2 separate regions of the Homo sapiens genome follow, and region 1 is linked to region 2. The links are contacts of gene promoters, found by promoter capture Hi-C in blood cells and fetal thymus (Javierre and others, 2016). All regions are on one chromosome and are shown on one strand. Each heading gives the region's core, a stretch centred on a gene start or on the middle of the fragment in contact. The rest is flanking DNA. Distances are from core to core; before and after follow the strand shown. Region 1 holds the start of SIGLEC7 (sialic acid binding Ig like lectin 7). Region 2 holds the start of FPR3 (formyl peptide receptor 3).

Region 1 (4,917 bases), core at 1,387-3,886, 650 kb after region 2:
GTCACAGTCAAGTTCTGAGGAGGGTCTGGGACAGAAAGACATGGAGACCTGCATCACTGTGAGGGCTGGGGACACTGGCCCTGTCTCCCCAGGAGCTGCATAAATGGGGAAGGCGGAGCCAGCGTCCTCCTGATCCCACAACCAGCCCAGATTCTGGGACCCAGCACCCAGTGTCGAGCCCTGACCCCATCCTCTGCCCTCAGGGACGTCCCCCCCTCATCAGGGACCAGGGCGTCCTGGCTCAGCACTCACAGGACACATTGAGTTGGATGGTCCTGTTCGTGGTCACGCCGGCCCCAGGCAAGGTCACCTGACAGGTGAGGCTGGTGCCGTGGTGCTGGGGCTGTGGGATGAGGGTGAGCACTGAGGAGCGGGTGGTGGAGGGGTGCAGGGGGGACACAGAGGTCCCCATCCAGGAGATCATAGGGGGCGTCCCCTGCTCACAGGCCCAGGGCACAGAGCAGGTCAGATTCTGGAAGCAGCCAGACTCCAGGGTACCGGGGATAAGGATGTTGGGCCTGTGGGTCAAGGCTGGTGAAGAGAGGGGGACTCAGGATCAGGACAGAGGATCCATGGTACAGCCCTGGGGGAAGCTCAGGCTCTGGTTCAGCTTCTGCCCTGAGCCCAACTCGCTTCACCCTCAGCCCTCTCCCAGGGCAGGGGCCCCATCCCAGGCTTTCGCTGCCACCCCCATGACCTTTCCCTGTGGTGTCTCCTGGAGCCTGTGCCTTATCTGTCACATTCACAGAGAGCTGCTTCGTTTTGTAATTCCATCTTATCTGTCCTCTCTCCACCTGGAAGTAGTAGTTCCTCAAATCCCCCTTCCTGGCATCTCTGATGCTCAGGGAGCAGTTGTTGGTCTTCAGGTCCCCAAGGAGGTGGAATCGGCCCCGTGTCTCCTGCACTTTTCCATTTGGGATGTTTGTGGCCACTGGATTATTCCATTGTATATTGATCCCTTTCTTAAACCAGCATCCATGGACAGGGCTAGAGTCAGTTCAGTTGTAATAGGGTTAAAGGACACTGCAGGGCACAGAGACGCACTAGCCCTCCTGCACCATCACCAACTCCAGCACCTCCAGCCTGTATCTTGACAGTGGGGCCTGGGACGCTGTGGGGAAATGAGGCTCAGCCCAGCCCCGACTGTCCCTCTCTTCATTTGCCCACAAGAGAGGCAGCAGCATCTCTGAGACAGAGGGTTCCTGGGCTCCTTGTGTGAGCAGAGAAGTGGGAGGGAGAGGAGGGGCAGGGCTGTGGGACCCACAGGGGGCTGGAGAGGGGCTGGAGAGGAGCTGGAGACCTCAACCCAGCACGAAAGAGAAACTACAAACCCACATGCTATAGGAACTGGTTCCCTCTGCACAGAGTGAAGGAAACCCTGAAGCTCAGAGACCCTAGAGACCCACCCAGGGAGGAGAAGAGACCGTGTCCCACCTCCTACCTCCGGGCTTCCCTGGAGCACCAGGGCCTGCACCAGACACGTAGGTCCTGCCCTCCCGGCCTCTGGACCATCGTGGAGGTCCCTCCTGTCTTTTGAGCATCTAAATGTGGATCTCCGAGGACCTCAGGGCATGAGAGATGGAGGGGCCGTGTGCTGAGTCTCCCTGTCCAGGCTCAGGTGCCTCTGCTGCCCTTGGTTTGCGCCAGGAAGTGCTTCCTCCCTGGCCTGGCCTGAGAGAGTCACGGGGTTGTGTAGACCTAAGGCTCTCAACTGGGGAGGACTTAACCCCCCAGGACGTTTAACAATGTGTGGAGATAATTGTTATTGTCTCACTGCATGGGTGGAGTGGGTGCTTCTGGCATCTGGTGGGGAGAGGCCTGGGATGGTGCTAAACCCCGGCCATGCCTAGGACAGGCCCCAAAACAAGGAGTCATAAGGCCCCACATGCCACAATGCCAGCGTCAGAGGCAGGATGAGGATGTCAGGCCTGTGGGTCAGGGCTGGTGAGGGGAGGGGCCTGCAGGATCAGGAGGGGCATCCAAGGTGCGGTCCTGGGGAAGCTCAGGCTCTGGTCCAGCTCCTCTCCTGAGTCCATCACCCCCGGCCCCCTCCCAGGACATGTGTCCCGTCTCAGCCGTGCCCTAAAGCCCTCATCACATTTGCCTTTGGCCTCTCTTGGAGCCCGTGCCTTACCTGTCACGTTCACAGAGAGCTGGTCATATTTATAATTCCATTTTATATTTCCTTTCTCCATACGAAAGAAGTATCTCCCCGCATCACTCATTCTGGCATCTCTGATGCTCAGGGTGCAATTTTTGGTCTGTGGGTCCCCAAGGAGGTGGAATCGGTCCCGAGTTTCCTCCTGCACTGCCCAAGCTGGGTTGTTTGTGGCCACTGGAGCCTTCCAGCTTATATCATTCCCTGCCCGGAACCAGTAGCCATGAACTGGGTCAGAGTCAGTCTGGCTGTCCACTGGGTAGGAGAAGGAGCAGCGCACATGGACACACATGCCCTCTTGCACGGTCACGGAACTCTGCATCGTCAGCGAGTAATCCTTCCGGTTACTCTTCTGTCCTTCCACCCTCTCCCTCCCCCAGAGCAGGGGCAGCAGCAGCAGCAGCAGCATATCTGGGGTTGGAGGTGCCAGGGCCGCGAGGGAACGTCTGTTCCTCAGGGTTCTTCTCTCAGGAACTGCGGGCTCAAGACTTAGAAGAGGCCCTACAGGAAGTCGGTGGTGAGGTCAAAACAGTGACCTCCTTAGAAGAAGAACTTCACACACAGACACTGTCAGGGCTGGGTCAGCCCTGGGAGATCCACCGTCCACCACCCGACATTCACTCCTGGGTCCCTGAGGCCAGAGCGGGAGACAGACTCACCCAGATTCCCACCCCATGCAGGGCCCACCCCACCTCCTGCCTCCCTCTCAATGCCTTTCCCTTTAGGTGATATTTTCTGCAGGGTGAAAATAACTCCCATCTGCCCAGACCCCTGAGTCACAGGCTGTGGATGTCTGCGTAGCTCAGAAGTGGGACTCGGGGCCATGAGAGACAGGGGTGCAGGTGGGGTGAACAGGCAGCCTCTCATCCCTCCCTCAGCAGCCACGAGGTGGGCACCCCCTTTCTGCACAATGAGGTCAACACAGCAGAGCCGGACACTGTCCCCAAGGAGTCACTGTGTGGTGGGGAGACACTGAGTCTCCTGACGTTTGAGCTCCCCATGACAGGAGCTTCAGTGGGGGGCACAGGCAGGGTGGGGTCACTCTCCCCTAGGTCGGGGGTTCAGTCTCAGGAGGACCGAGCAGACGGACATGGGGCTGTGAAGGTGAGGATTGCGCCTGTTGATACACGCCAAGGACACGGAGGGGAGCCCAGCCTGCAGGAGGCCGGGGAAGCTGAGGCTGTGATTGTTGTATTGTGGGGCTTGGTAGACAGGAAAGTCATAAGGGAAAGGATCAATATGAAAAGAGCAGACACTATTCCCATCCTCACAGCTCTCTGAGCACAAGGACATTTCCCTTCACCACTGCTATCTCATGAGGCCTGGTTAGTGCAGAGTGTGAGGGGTCTGCTGGCCCTGGGGCTTTGCTCCTGCAGGAACTGCTCCTAGGGGTTCAGGTGAACAGGAGACGTGGAGCAAAGACACCAGCCCCGGGGCGTCCACCCTCAGTGATGGGCGCGATTTTCTGAGAGAAGAAACACGCACCTGACTTCAACAGAAGATTATTTTAAACTGTGTGACTGGGCTGGGAGGAAGTGGGAAAAATCCTGCAAGCTGCAGCCCCCTTAGATCCAGGCCAGCTTTTCTTGAAACAGTTTTTTTTGAGCGGGGAGAAACACAAGACATGTACATAAAAGTGTCCCCTAAAAACCAACTCAGTGATTCACACAAAATAAGCACCCTTGAAGAACTAGAACACAAAAGAACTGTCAAGTCTGTCCCTTGAAATGAAGAAAGAGATTTTATTAATTCATTCACCCTTACATTCCCCTTTCCTATTGGCCATGCCCCCGCTCCCTCCTGAAGGAGCCCCTAGCCTCACTTTAATGATAATAGTCTTCCTGCTGTTCTATGTAGTTTTATCATCGGCACATGCTGCCTTGAAAATTCTAACTTCACGTAGGTTTTCCTGAAGATGTTGTATACATAGAAAATCCCAGTCTGTTTTCTTCCATACAACTGCATTGATCTGCTCAGCCCACACTGTCCCCTAATTGTCCATAACCTAGAGATCATTTGGCTGTAACGATTGAGAGAGGAAGATGCTGGGTTTGGGCGTCCGAAGCCACTCCCCGCCCTCACCTCCAATCCCTGCATTTGCAGCTAGTATCTCATCCTGCAGACCAATCTGCCTCCTGGGCGCCTCCTCCTTGCCCAGCCACTCTCTCCCCATAAGGATATTTGCAGTATCTCAGTGGGCAGAAGTGTTACCGGATGGTGCCATGCAGTTCCAGGCTCTTGGTGTCTTAAACAAAGAATTGGATGAGACACACACAGACAGCAAAGCAAGAAGCAGCAGTTTATTAAGCACAGTATCACACTCTTGGAGAGGGAGAGCGAACTGATCTCTATGAGGTGAGATCAGCATTACTTTGGGTCTTTTTATGTTTGTTTGTTTGTTTTTTTGTTTTTCTTCGCTTCCCAAGGCTGCCAAATCTCTATCCAGTGTCTGCCTTTTTTCGGGGGGAAGGGGTGGTGGTGAGGTGGGGACGAAGTCACCCAAGCTTGAGTGCAGTGGCACAATCTTGGCTCACTGCAACCTCAACCTTTTGGGTTGAAGCGATTCTTCTGCCTCTGCCTCCCTGGTAGCTGGGACTACAGGCGCCCGCCACCATGCCTGGCTAATTTTTGTATTTTTAGTAGAGATGGGGTTTCACCAGGTTGGCCAGGCTGGTCCTGAATTCCTGACCTCAAGTGATCCGCCCACCTTGGCCTCCCAAAGTGCTGGGATTACAGGCGTGAGCCACCGCGCCTGGCCA
Region 2 (5,254 bases), core at 2,484-4,983:
TGGGATTACAGGTGTGAGCCACCACGCCCAGCCAAGCTACAGCAATTTTCTATGATCATGAAAATCTGAGAATCTTCCCACCCTGGGCTATTTAGCCTCTTTAAGAATGATAGCAATTATGTAGCACTTGTTTACATCTAATACTCATAATAACACTGTGAGGCAGCCATCATCATCCCTTTTTTACTAGGGAGAATCCATGGCCCAGGGACTCCTGTAGTTTTTTCAGCATCATACCTAGCCAGTCAGTGGAGACAGGAAGATTTGTAAACCAGACCGAACAGAGCCACTACCTTTGCACGCTCAAGTGCTGCCATTGAAAGGCGTTCTTCCAAAATTACCAGGATAGGGTCCTGCCCTCGTATAATAAATTTTTTCTCCTATTTCTTTTACTCATTTCCTTCTTTTTTCCTATCATTATCAGTCACTTTCACTGAGGTCTTCCCAGGGACATTGTTTAGTGTAGCTCAGGGTTTCTCAGCTTTGACACCAATGGCATTTTGGGCTGGTTAATTCTTTGTTGTGGTGGACTGTTCTGTACACAGTAGGATGTTTAGCGGCACCCCTGGCCGCTATCCAGAGATGCCAGTAGCAACTCCCCATTCAGGAGTGACAACCAAAAGACATTGTCAAAGATCCCCTGGGAGGCAAAATACCTCCCACCCCCTCCCCCTGCCAGTTGGGTGTCACTGTAACAGTGTAAAGAGTACCAGGCTTTGGAGTCAGTTAGATCTCTACTCTGATCTTATCTCTGACACCTCGATGGTGTAAATTCTTGATCAGTGACATCTCTTTGAGCCCCCATTTTCCCCTCTGCAGAACTGAAATGGTTTTTTGATAAAGACTGATTTTCAGGGGAGGATTAAATAGAATAGACATGGACTGGAGGCTGAGGTGGGGGAATCGCTTGAACCCAGGAGGCAGAGGTTGCAGTGAGCTGAGATTGCACCACTACACTCCAGCTTGGCAACAGAGCGAGACTCCGTCTCAAAAAAAAAAAAAAAAAAAAAAAGAATAGACATGGAAATCATCTAGGATAGGTCGGTAAATCTGTAACAAATTAGAACTCTTAGCCCTCACCAGGCTGTGTGTTGTGTTGTGGGGTACAATCCCGAACCCTGCACTATGAAGCTCAGGGTCAGGACAAGAACGATGCTTATAGCAATAGTAGCTTCTACTTATGAACATTATCCACACACCAAGAGCTTCTCCCTTAACCCTCACAACTCCTCTCATAGGCTCTGTGGATGGGATGTGTTAATATGTGTAAGCACTCAACACACCCTGAGACACGGTGAATATTGATTAATGTTAGTTTTAATTTGTATAACCATTGTACAGACGAGAAAGTTAAGACTTAGATTGAGGTGGGATGTGGTGAGGGATAAAAGATCATTTTTTATACCAAAAAAATTGAAAATTGTATTTCTACTAGATCATTCTATCACATAATCACGCCCCCTCTCTTTCAAGAGAAACCTCCTTTGAAGCATATTTCTTTCCAGCTTCAACCCTATCTAGCCAAATGACCTCTCTGTAAGGTCTGTCTGTAAGACAGAATTTCCAGCCAAACATCCAAAGAGAATGTCTCTAATTCTTCCTTTTCCTTCTTCGCCTCAGCTGTTCTCCTTAATCCACTCCACATTGACTTCTGTCCTTAGCACTCCACCTAATGCATTTTCCCAAGGATGCTTATGACCCCCAGGCTGCCAAATCCAGTGAGTCCTTCTCAGTTTTTAAGACCTGATATCCCAATGACACAGGACCCATTGGATCACTTTCTCCCTTTTCAAACACATTTTTCCTATGCCATGAGATATATCCAAGAGATATGTGCACACAATACACTCTTGGTCGTCTCTACAGCTCGATTCTCTTCCTCTTTTTAGTCCAATTTACGGTGTTTTCTATTCTAAATTTGACTCTAAATGTTGGGGTATCTCACATTCTATAAATGATATCATCCAGTCTCTGGGATTAAACCATTATGCTGTCTTTTCATCTAAATTATCAGCCGTGGCCTCTCCCTGGCACTCAAGTCTGATAAAACCTCTCCCCGTGGGAGTCCCATAGACTCCAAACCTCACATGGTTTTACCAAACTGTTGATGTTCTCTGCCTCCCAGACCTGCCACTCTTCCAATATTCTGTATCTATTTGGAGATTAAATATTCAGTTGTTAAAGCTCCAGATCTAGAACTCACCTTTCATTTCTCTTTTCCTCACCACCCAACGCCATCCACGTCTTACTCATTCTATCTACAGAACATGCTGAATGCACAGCCAGAGCCATTGCCATCTCCACGACCGGTGTCCATGGCCCTGTCAGGCTTGGATATTTGCACAAGCCTTGCAAATAGCTTTTTCCTGGTCCTGCTGCCCCCTCCCCTAAGATCCATTCTCCAGACAGAAACCAAATGAGCTTTAAAAAGGTCCAATAAGATGGTGATGTTATTCGCAATACCTTCCGATGGCTTCCAGACTTCTAAGTTACCCTTATCTTAGGTTCCCTTATCCTAGGTTCCCTTATCCACTGCCACATGTGCCCTGTGCATCCCTCAGACCTCATCTCTGCACTCTCATCAGACACACTGGGCTCCACCCACTGGGCTCTAATTCCTTGAACTTGCAGCTCTTTGTCATCTCAGGGCTTCTGCTTTCTCTATTCCTTCTGCCTACCGTGCTCTTCGTCTTGAGCTTCCTGCACCTGGCTCATCCTGAATATTCATATTTCAGGTCAAATATTATTTCAGAGAGATCCCACCTCACCCACTCTGCAAAGCAGAATGCTCAGGTACAGCCTATCTCACCAGATACTTTTCTCCTTTATTTGTTTGTTCATTTATCTTCTCTCTTAAATACCCTCCACACTAGTACGTAAGCTCCACAGGACTATCAAGATCCTTCAATGCTACATCTCTACAATGCTACATGTCCAGTAGAAATATAATGTGTTAACTTTAGCTACATATGGGACTCAAAATTTTTTTGTAGCCACTGTTTTTAAAAAAGTAAAACACCTTTGGGGAAATTATTTTAGTAATAAATTTTATTTAATTACATATATGATAAAGAATTGGCCAGTCACATTGGCTCACGCCTGTAATCCCAGCACTTTGGGAGGCCGAGGTGGGCAGATCACGAGGTCAGGAGTTGAAGACCAGCCTGGCCAACATATTGAAACCCCGTCTCTACTAAAAATACAAAAAATTAGCCAGGCGTGGTGGCAGGTGCCTGTAATCCCAGCTACTCAGGAGGCTGAGGCAGGAGAATCGCTTGAACCTGGGAGGCAGAGGTTGCAGTGGGCTGAGATTGTGCCACTGCACTCCAGCCTGGGTGACAGCGCAAGACTCCATCAAAAAAAAAAAAAAAAAAAAAAAAAAAAAGAATGTTACTGGAACATGTAACCAAATTAAACACTGTTAATGAAATAGTTAACATTGTTTTCATACTAACGAAGTGGATTCTTCACTGGACTACGCTACTCCAGAGTTAGAAGGGCTCTGTCATATAGCAGGCATTTCAACAATAACTTTAAAATTTTCAGACCCCAACTTACCACCAGCTTAGATCCTTTTCCTGTGCCCAGTTCCTGGATTCCTGTGGAGCAACTCAGGCTCTAAGTACTTGTAAAAAGATGAAGTTATATGTTTGGTTTTAAGATCTTAATTGGCTTTGGTTATAAAGATGGAATCAGACAGCCTGTCATGCTATAAAACAAAATGAGTGTTTTGATAGTTAGAGCCAAGGAAGTTGGTTTTACAGGGATAGGAGGGCTAAAGAAAGCAGAAACAGAGAACAAAAACCTGATTGGTCATCTGGATGTTGCATTTTTTTTGTGCAGCAGGAATAGAGAGACAGCAATAAGGAACAACTGATTGATTGAAGTCAAGTTACCACAGATTGCTTTTTTTTTTTTTTTGTAAAGATGAAAGCAGACAGAACTTCATGTTCATGCCCACTGAAACTGGCCTGTTTTAGGAATTTGTCCATTTTCTCTCTCTCCTGATTTCTCAAAAGTTCAGATACATTAGTTTTGGTTTGGTGATGTGGAGTTTTAGTATGACTGACTCCATTTGGTTTGCTTTGTCGAACCTAGTACAATAGGTCAGTCCAAACCACTTACTTGCTGTTTTTATAGAACAGGCTTCAGCAGAGACTTAGTTGAAGGACACGGGGACAATGGAGCTGGAATCAATCCAGTGACACAAACTCAGGGTTTCTTACCATTCCCAGAAGACACCTTGGAGATGTTCTCAGACGATTTATCTTGGAAACTTATGTGTCTGAATGTTCCTTCACCTCTAGCCTTCTGTGGGAGACTGGAGTTCATCCTTCCAAATATCAAAGGCCAAGAAATCTGAGAGTCCAGGCCCTTTCTTTTCAGAGATTCAGGAAAATGAAAGAAACAATTACCAAGGTGAGAAGAATGAGAGGAAAAACAATAAAAAAACAAAGATGCACGGTGAAACAAAAACTCGATTCTCTACTTTCACAATCCTTCTGACCAAATATACTTTTTCTCTACACCAAGAAATTCTCCAATTCTCTGGGGACACCACCTGGGCCACCTGCAATTAAAAATTCGGTTATGATGCTGTCTACCTGGATTCAGCTCAGATCCGAAAAGCTAAAGGGCTCACTCCCACAAACTGTTCTCAGATCAGATCAGACATCTGTTGCAAGTCCCAGGTGGCTACTTGTACTTCTGACTGACAGGCTATAAATTGGGTGTTCCAATGACACCAATAAATTGCTAGAATGGCACACAGAACTCAGGAAAGCACTTTGTTTGCATCTGTTGCTTTATATAAGGAATATACCTCAGGAATAGTCCATTGGAAAGAGGCATATGGCAGGTATATGGCAGGGAAGGGGTTGGGTGGTGCATGGAGCTTCCATGCTCTCTTCAGGCAGCCACTCTCCCAGCACTCCTGAGTGTTCACCAATGTGGAAGCTCATCAAATCTCATTGTTCAAGAGTTTTTATGGAACTCAATCTCCAGTCCCTGCCTCCCCTTCCTGGAGATCAGTAGGTGGGGCTGACAGCTCCAACCCTCTAATCCCTTGGTCTTTCTGGTGACCAGTCCCATCCTAAGGCCATGATCTCCTTAGCATAAACTCAGCTATGATCAAAAGGGGCTGTTTATGAATAACAAATAATACTCCTATCACTCAGGGAATTCCAAGGGTTTTAAGAGCCCTGTGCCAGAAATCTGTGACAAAATCAAATATGCTTTGAGGTATTTCATACCT

Evidence for each region. Contacts are between HindIII fragments. The CHiCAGO score rates a contact against its expected background, and 5 or more counts as called.
Region 1: a contact is called between the fragment with the promoter of SIGLEC7 here and the fragment with the promoter of FPR3 in region 2, in 12 of 17 cell types (neutrophils, M0 macrophages, M2 macrophages and 9 more). The highest score is 22.8, in neutrophils.

The regions. Positions count from the first base shown.
Region 1 is chr19:51,140,020-51,144,936 of GRCh38, reverse strand. It overlaps SIGLEC7 (sialic acid binding Ig like lectin 7), which reads right to left and starts at 2,636. Exons shown (of 7, transcript NM_014385.4): 1 at 2,135-2,636; 2 at 253-531; 3 at 1-25. The coding sequence starts at 2,567. LOC124904749 (a long non-coding RNA gene) reads left to right here and starts at 4,427. Exons shown (of 3, transcript XR_007067310.1): 1 at 4,427-4,513. The HindIII fragment of the contact is 9,764 bases long and covers 1-4,664 here.
Region 2 is chr19:51,793,636-51,798,889 of GRCh38, reverse strand. It overlaps FPR3 (formyl peptide receptor 3), which reads right to left and starts at 3,733. Exons shown (of 2, transcript NM_002030.5): 1 at 3,559-3,733. The HindIII fragment of the contact is 12,110 bases long and covers 1-5,254 here.